Linked DNA regions of Homo sapiens: region 2 is linked to region 1. Evidence: promoter capture Hi-C in 16 types of primary human blood cells and fetal thymus (Javierre and others, 2016). All regions are on one chromosome and are shown on one strand. The core of a region is centred on a gene start or on the middle of the fragment in contact, and the rest is flanking DNA. Distances in the headings are between cores, read along the strand shown.

Region 1 (3,896 bases), core at 640-3,139:
AAGATAGGGCCTTGCTCCATCACCCAGGCTAGAGTAGAGGGCAGTGGCATGATTATGACTTACCGCAGGCTTGAGCTCAAGTGATACTCCCACCTCAACCTTCCAAGTAGCTGGGACCACAGGCATGCCACCACACTCGACTAGTTTTCGTATTTTTTTTTTTTTTTTTGTAGAGACAGGGTCTCGCTATGTTGCCCAGGCTGGTCTTTAACTCCTGAACTCGAGATCCCCCTGCCTAAGCCTCCCAAAGTGCTGGGAATACAGGTGTGAGCCACCATACCTGGCCTAAAAAACAGATTTGAGATGAAACTTGCATGCCATTCAATTCATTCATTTAAAGTGTACAGTTCAGTGTTTTTTAGTATATTTACAGAGTTGTGCAACCATCACCACAATTTAGCTTTAGAGTATTTTCATCTCCCCAAAAATTAACCTGTACCATGAACTGACACTCCCCATTCCCTCTTCCCAACACTCCTCTTCCCAGAACCACTCATCTACTTTCTATCTCTATTGATTTACCTATTTGGGAGATTTCACATAAAGAGGTCATACAATATGTGGTATTTCATGACCGCTCCTGACTTGGCATGTTATCATCGTCATTCCTTTTAATTGTACATATTTGCAAGCTCTACATTATATTATTGCTTTGTATATATGCAAATTCATTTGGATATATACACCTTAGGTAAACCTTTGATATTTTAATTTTGGTTACACTGAACTTAAATTTATCTGTGAAAGAGAAAAGACATCTTACAATATTGAGTCTTCCTGTTGAAGAGAACAATATATTTTTTCATTGATTTAAGTTTTATGTTCTCCCAGTAGCATTTTAAAGTTTTCTTCATCTAGGTTCTCTGTATTTTTTGTTGAATTCATACCTAGATATTGCTGCTTTTTGTATATTTTTTTCTTTTGGATAGTTGGGCCTTCTCTTCTTCATTAGAGTAGAGATGAGTGGTTTTGTCAGTGCTTTCTTTATGTGACCTCTGTAATAGGTAATTTTCCCTTAAGTCTGATATACAATATAACTATGTACATAGACATATATGAAACAAGGAAAATTTATGACAAGAGCCAAATAGTGTTTCTGACAAATAATTCACAGAAGCCCAGCGATTTTATTTTGATCCAAATTTTAAAAACTGAGAAAAGAAAGAAAAAAAGCAATGATGTTTGTTTTCCAGAGTTTCCCGGGAAGTTTTTTCAACTTGTTACATTTTTATCCATTACTTTACAGCTACATGGGCTCTGGTCCATTTGTGTCAGGGCCAAGTTCATCTTGTTTTGAGGCCTGTACACTTACACACTTTCTTCTGCCTGGGAATGATTTCTCCTCACATTCTGATTCTCCTTCAAATCTCAGTTTAAGTGTCAACTCCTCTCCAAACCTCCCTGAGTGAAGTGGGCCTTTCCCTCCATTTTCTTTCACTGTACTACTTCATCCCCTGAGCACTCATCACAACCTAATAACATCTATTAACAGCTTTGTCTGTTTCAGACACACAATGTAGATTCTCCAATGCCTACCAGAGTACCTGGCACATACTATGCCTTCAATAAATAATTTTCAAAAAAATGAATTCAGATAAGGCAAATGTAATTTAAACTTTCAGTTAACTTATATTGAATGTATATGCCAGGCACAAGTCATGGTGTATTTTACATACTACATTTGGTTGTCATCTAATTAGCTCTGAAGGTCGCAGATCCATAATTCCAAAGTCCTCTCTAATCCTATAAATTTTCTCCTTCTACCTGAGGGTCTTGTCCCGCCCCCCACATCTTCTCCGCCCCTCACGCTTCTGAGAGCCCAAGCAGGGTTACCCGGCGAAGACTTCCGGGGCCGATGCGCATGCGCGGCCGATTTGCACATGCGCAATACTCGCGCTGCCTCCGTGGTCCCTGCCTGGCTGAGGTGGCAGCAGGGGGCGGGACGCGCAGCGCTATGGCAGAGGGCAGCGGGGAAGTGGTCGCAGTGTCTGCGACCGGGGCTGCCAACGGCCTCAACAATGGGGCAGGCGGGACCTCGGCGACGACCTGCAACCCGCTGTCGCGCAAGCTGCATAAGATCCTGGAGACGCGGCTGGACAACGACAAGGTAACCGGGGCTGGCGGGGCCGGAGTCACAGGTTCCTGCGGGGCTGAGCCGGGCCAGGGGCGGCGTCTGTCAGGGACCCACCGCGGTCTCCCTCGTCCCGGCAGCAGAGGGACCGCGAGTGACCCCAGACCTGCGGGCTCCGCTGCTCTGCGGGCGCCGGGGGCGGTGAGAAGGGGGAGCCCCAGCAACCTCCGGAAAAGCGAAGGGGTTTCCTGGGTGTTCTCTCCACCTGAAAAGGTGCCTTCAAGGCTCTCTGGATGGGATTGGTGAACGGTGGTGCCTCGAGAAGTGTCCTCCAAACACCCCTGGAGGCGTTTGGCTGTGTGAGCTGGGAGAGTGGAGGAGAGCACAAGACTGGATATGAAACAGATGCAAAAGAGCAGATTCCAAGATAAGGTAGCGCAAATGGGGGTCGGGAGACCAAGAGAGCAGTGGTAGGGATAAGGGTGCATTTCCACGGACAAGTGACAACAATTGCAATAATTTGCAGCGCGAAAGAACTACCTTTGCCCGTGGCTGAAATGAACTCATATCTACTAGTTTTTGTTGAGCCAAGCGCTATGATTTGTGGGCTCAGGCTGTATTTCTTTAGAAGATAAACTGACAGCATGCTCTCACAAGTACCTCCTGAAACTTAAGTTGGACTTTACAGCTCCTCACATACCCAGCCATCTCTTCTGTCTCTGTGGGTCGCTAGGTAAATTGGTCATGACAGTGTAACATAAAGAAGAACATATGTCAAAGTTAGAGAGTTTTATAGGTGAATATGTAGGTAACTGAAAATAAGCTGTCGATAACAATTTGATTCCGATATGTAAAAAAATAACATTGCAATGTAATGAATAAGAAATTAGGGCTCTGGAGACTACCACTTATTAGATAGAACCACTAAATGTGTGCATCATGATTTGAGTAAGTCCCTTCACTAATCTCAGCTTCTGTTTAGGAATTAGGAATCCTGCTGTTAAGTTTCTCATGGTTGTTATTTGAGGACTCAGTGAGAGACTCCAGGTAAAGTCCTTTGCAAAGAGCCTGGCACTTACTCTTTCTTAACAAATATTAATTTTATCATAAAATTTATGAAGTGTTTAATGTGTCTCATATTGATATTTATTATATCATTTAAGACTGCTACTTGCTCTGATATAGATAACATGGCCTTCTTTTTTGGACAGAGTTTTGCTCTTTTTGCCCAAGCTGGAGTGCAATGGGCGCAGTCTCGGCTCACTGCAACCTCTGCCTCCCGGGTTCAAGCGATTCTCCTGCCTCAGCCTCCCAAGTAGCTGGGATTACAGGCATGTGCCACCACGCCTGGCTAATTTTGTATTTTTATTAGAGACGGGGTTTCTCCATGTTGGTCAGGCTGGTCTTGAACTCCTGACCTCAGGTGATCTGCCCGCCTCAGCCTCCCAAAGTGCTGGGATTACAAGGCGTGAACCACTGCGCCCGGCCACATAACCTTCTTTTTACCATGAGGAAAATAAAGCATGGAGAGAGTGCAGCTAGGTTGTCATATAACTAGTAACTGGTGGAACTGTAATTTGCATCTGAGTCTGTGATTTCATTCGTTCAACATTACTGATTACTTCTTTGAACCAGACCTTAGGACATTTCAAGGCTATAGTCTAAAGAAACTGCTTCACTTCATGGGTTTTTTTTTTCTGTACAGTAAGTATTTATAGTTGTAAACATATTTTTGCTTCCTCTGAAATATTAAATTGAATTTATATAAATAGTTTTACTGTTTTTGTCAATCCAGCCAATATTTCAAAATAACAAATAGAAACAT
Region 2 (3,896 bases), core at 849-3,348, 1.0 Mb after region 1:
CAAAAAAGAAAAACTTGGCTGGAGGCTGGGTGAGGTGGCTCATGCCTCTAATCCCAGCCCTTTGGGAGGCCGGGGCAGGAGGATCACTAGAGGTCAGGGGTTCAAGACCAGCCTGGCCAATTGGTGAAACCCAGTCTCTACTAAAAGTACAAAAATTAGCCACGCGCCTAATCCCAACTACTCGGGAGGCTGAGACAGGAGAATTGCTTGAACCTGAGAGGCAGTGAGCCAGGATCGCACCACTGCACTCCAGCCTGGGCAAGAGAGTGAGAATTTGTCTCAAAAGAAATGGGGTGGAATCAGGTGTCAGTGTCCCCAGCTTTCATGAAAAGCATAAATAAAACTTCCTTCAGCTAAGATTTGAGGTTGTATTCTCTTTCCTTCAGCGTCACATCACAGAGAAGCATGGAAAGCCCCCATCAATCACAGACAAGAGGCTAGCCCTAGTTAGAAGAGCTTATCTACAGCTACTTTCCTTTCAGGTGGGAACAGTTTAAATTGCCACTAAATCACAAAATGAAAATCACTCCTTGGTGTTTTTCCATCTCCAGGATATGTGCCAGTTTTAATGGTCCATTGGCCATTGGCCTGTGCATCCACTGATGTTGGCATCAGTAGATGCTGAAGATTAATGCCAACCATTGTATGATAACCCAGTAAAACAAAATCAGTTAAGCATCTCAATACATTCTCTCTCTTCTTTAGTATCTATATATTTGACTCATTATTTGATTTTCCCTTTTCATTGTACACACAGTCAAATTAGGAGCCTGGCAGAGGTCTGGGGAAGTAGGGTGGAGAAGGAAAAGAATGCTTCCCCCTCTCCCTCCCTGCTGTCCTCTGGACATGACAGCACACCCAGAGTCCCTCGGTCATCTCCAGCCATGACTGGGGTGAGGAGAAGGCAATGGGAACACAGAGGCTCTTTACAGATCATAACAACCCCTCATCAAGTTTGCCATGATGTTGGTCCTCTATGCAAAATATGATAAAGTGAAATCACAAACAGATCTTCCAAGAAAAGCAGAAAATCAACAACGCATGATCAACTAGAACCTCTTTTATTCCCTAAGTAGTGTTCCATTTATTTTGTATTTTGAATTTTTATTTTGGTATGACTTGCCACCTACATACCTCAAAGAGGTATTGTAAGGATTAAAATAATGTCTTAAAGCACTTTGAAACAGGGATAAAATGTTTGTTCTCTGACATTGGTACAACCTCGTGGGTAGGTTTTTGTTAGTATACAAATTACTTTAACTCTGGTAAATACGTGATTTCTAAATCATTGATATTTGTTCTAAATTGTACCATAGCTCCTCCACATTCACGTGTTAGGCACATTGGTTGCCAAATCCAACTGGTCCTTTGTGAATTTAGAGATAATATGTATAATCATGGCACATCATAGCAAGAGTTTAGGAAGGCCTCTAATTTCAGGGATTGTTACTACCTATTCATGCTCTACAGCTTTGAGGGTTTTTGTTATTGTTGTTATGGTTGGTTTTTTGGTTTTTTTTTTTTTAGAGACAAGGTCTTGCTCTGTAATACAGGCTGGAGTTGCAGTGGTGCGATCATAGCTCACTACAGCCTCGAACTCCTGGGCTCAAGTGATCCTCCCACCTCAGCCTCCCTAGGTGTTAAGACTACAGATGCTTGCCACCACGCCCAACTAATTTTTAAATTTTCTGTAGAGATGGGATCTCCCTATGTTGCCCAGGCTGGTCTGGAACTCCTGGCCTTAAGCAATCCTCCCATCTCAGCCTCCCAAAATACTGGGATTACAGGTGTGAGCCATTGCACCTAGCTGCTATGAGTTTTACATGGAAGTAAGTTGAGAATTTTGAATCTTTGATCTATCTTTTTATACGATCTGATATACCAAAATGTTGCTAGAAAAGCTTTAAAAATCCTCATATTATTCTTGATAGTCTCAGCAGGCAATTAAAAAGCAGTTAAAAATAAAATTAGCTGACTCATTTCAGGAGTTTAGCTGACAATGGTACTGGTAGCTTCGGCTTGACAGATAATATTATCATAGAAAGCAGCACAACAACTTTAACAATCATGCAAATTTCTCTAAAATAATTGCAAAAGAGAATTTATACAATGTATCCTTTGGTTTTCTGTGTCTCTTCTTTTGGACAAAATTCTCAAAAACTGAACCCACTCAGACACCCCAACGTATTTTGTAAGAGTTAGATGTTGCTTTAAGAAATACAAAACCTGGGGCCGGGCGTGGTGGCTCATGCCTGTAATCCCAGCACTTTGGGAGGCTGGGGTGGGAGGATTGTTGAAGCTTGGGAGTTCGAGTCCAGCCTGGGCAACATAGTGAGACCCTGTCTCTTTAAAAAAAAAAAAAGAAGAAGAAGAAGAAGAAGAAACAAAATTTGGAGACAAGTGACTGTCTCATAAAAATTTTAAAATCTTACAAAATTAACTCAGAAAAGCAAAACATATAGAACGGCAATAACAACAAAAAGTAGATGACTTGAAGGGAATTGGAATATAATGGCTTCTAAGTCTGGGATCTGTTTTTCTGGGTTTGATATCTTTTTTTTTTTGGGACGGAGTTTTGCTCTTGTTGCCCAGGCTGGAGTGCAATGGCGCTATCTCGGGTCACTGCAACCTCCACCTCCCGGGTTCAAGCAGTTCTCCTGCCTTAGCCTCCTGAGTAGCTGGGATTACAGGCACCTGCCACCACGCGCTGTGAATTTTTTGTATGTTTAGTAGAGACAGGGTTTTGCCATGATGGCCAGGCTGGTCTTGAACTCCTAGCCTCAGGTGATCCACCCGCCTCAGCCTCCCAAAGTGCTGGGGATACAGGCATGAGCCACTACGCCTAGCTGTGATTTCTTTTTTTAAGACTAGTTAAATTCTTACTTAGGAAGAAGGCAATAGCCTAATTTTAATGTTCACTTTTAAAATTAAAAAGTACTCATGTCTTTTCATGTAGACGAATTATTTCTAACAAGGCAGATTCTGCAGTTATTCCTAGATTAGTTATTCTTGGCAGTTGTACTGTAAAACCACGTGTCAACTGTGTGTACACACGATGATTCTATTAAAAGATATCATAAATGCCACCTTATTTTCACAGCCCAATTAAAATATACAACAAATTTAGTCACTAATAAACAAAAATTGATGAGAACCATGGAAACATCTTAAATTAGAAACCAGGAAAACCTGAAATTTAAAAAAAAAGAAGCTGCTAAAATTACACAGTCAGGATAAAAATTTATATTGTAAATGTTACCAAAAAACATTTAAAGGTGTGAAAGGGTTTTGTTTTTTTCTTAATTAGCAAGGACATTCTTAGTTCTACCTTTGATGATCAATTCTTAAACAGGTCATAATGAAAGCATTATTTTTTATTTTTATTTATTTATTTTTTTGAGACTGAGTTTCACTCTCGTTGCCAAGGCCAGAGTGCAATGGCGTGATCTCCACTCACTGCAACCTCTGCCTCCTGAGTTCAAGCGATTCTCCTGCCTCAGCCTCCGGAGTAGCTGGGATTACAGGCGCCTGCCTCCACGCCCAGCTAATTATTATTATTTTTTTTTTTGAGACAGAGTCTTGCTCTGTCGCCCAGGCTGGAGTGCAGTGGCACGATCTCGGCTCAATGCAAGCTCCGCCTCCCGGGTTCACGCCATTCTCCTGCCTCAGCCTCCTGAGTAGCTGGGACTACAGGCGCCCGCCACCATGCCTGGCTAATTTTTTGTATTTTTTTAGTAGAGACGGGGTTTCACCGTGTCAGCCAGGATGGTCTTGATCTCCTGACCTCATGATCCACCCGCCTCGGCCTCCCAAAGTGCTGGGATTACAGGCGTGAGCCACCACGCCCGGCTATTTTTTTGTATTTTTAGTAGAGACGAGGTTTCACTATGTTGGCC

What was found. Contacts are between HindIII fragments. The CHiCAGO score rates a contact against its expected background, and 5 or more counts as called.
Region 2: a contact is called between a fragment that was not itself captured here and the fragment with the promoter of COG6 in region 1, in 2 of 17 cell types (fetal thymus and M0 macrophages). The highest score is 7.7, in fetal thymus.

What each region holds. Positions count from the first base shown.
Region 1 is chr13:39,653,773-39,657,668 of GRCh38, forward strand. COG6 (component of oligomeric golgi complex 6) reads left to right here and starts at 1,890. Exons shown (of 19, transcript NM_020751.3): 1 at 1,890-2,107. The coding sequence starts at 1,955. RefSeq lists a silencer at 2,154-2,203. The HindIII fragment of the contact is 8,496 bases long and covers 1-3,896 here.
Region 2 is chr13:40,674,242-40,678,137 of GRCh38, forward strand. No RefSeq gene overlaps it. Among named protein-coding and RNA genes, the nearest start is that of FOXO1, 9.5 kb to the left of the region's middle. The HindIII fragment of the contact is 398 bases long and covers 1,900-2,297 here.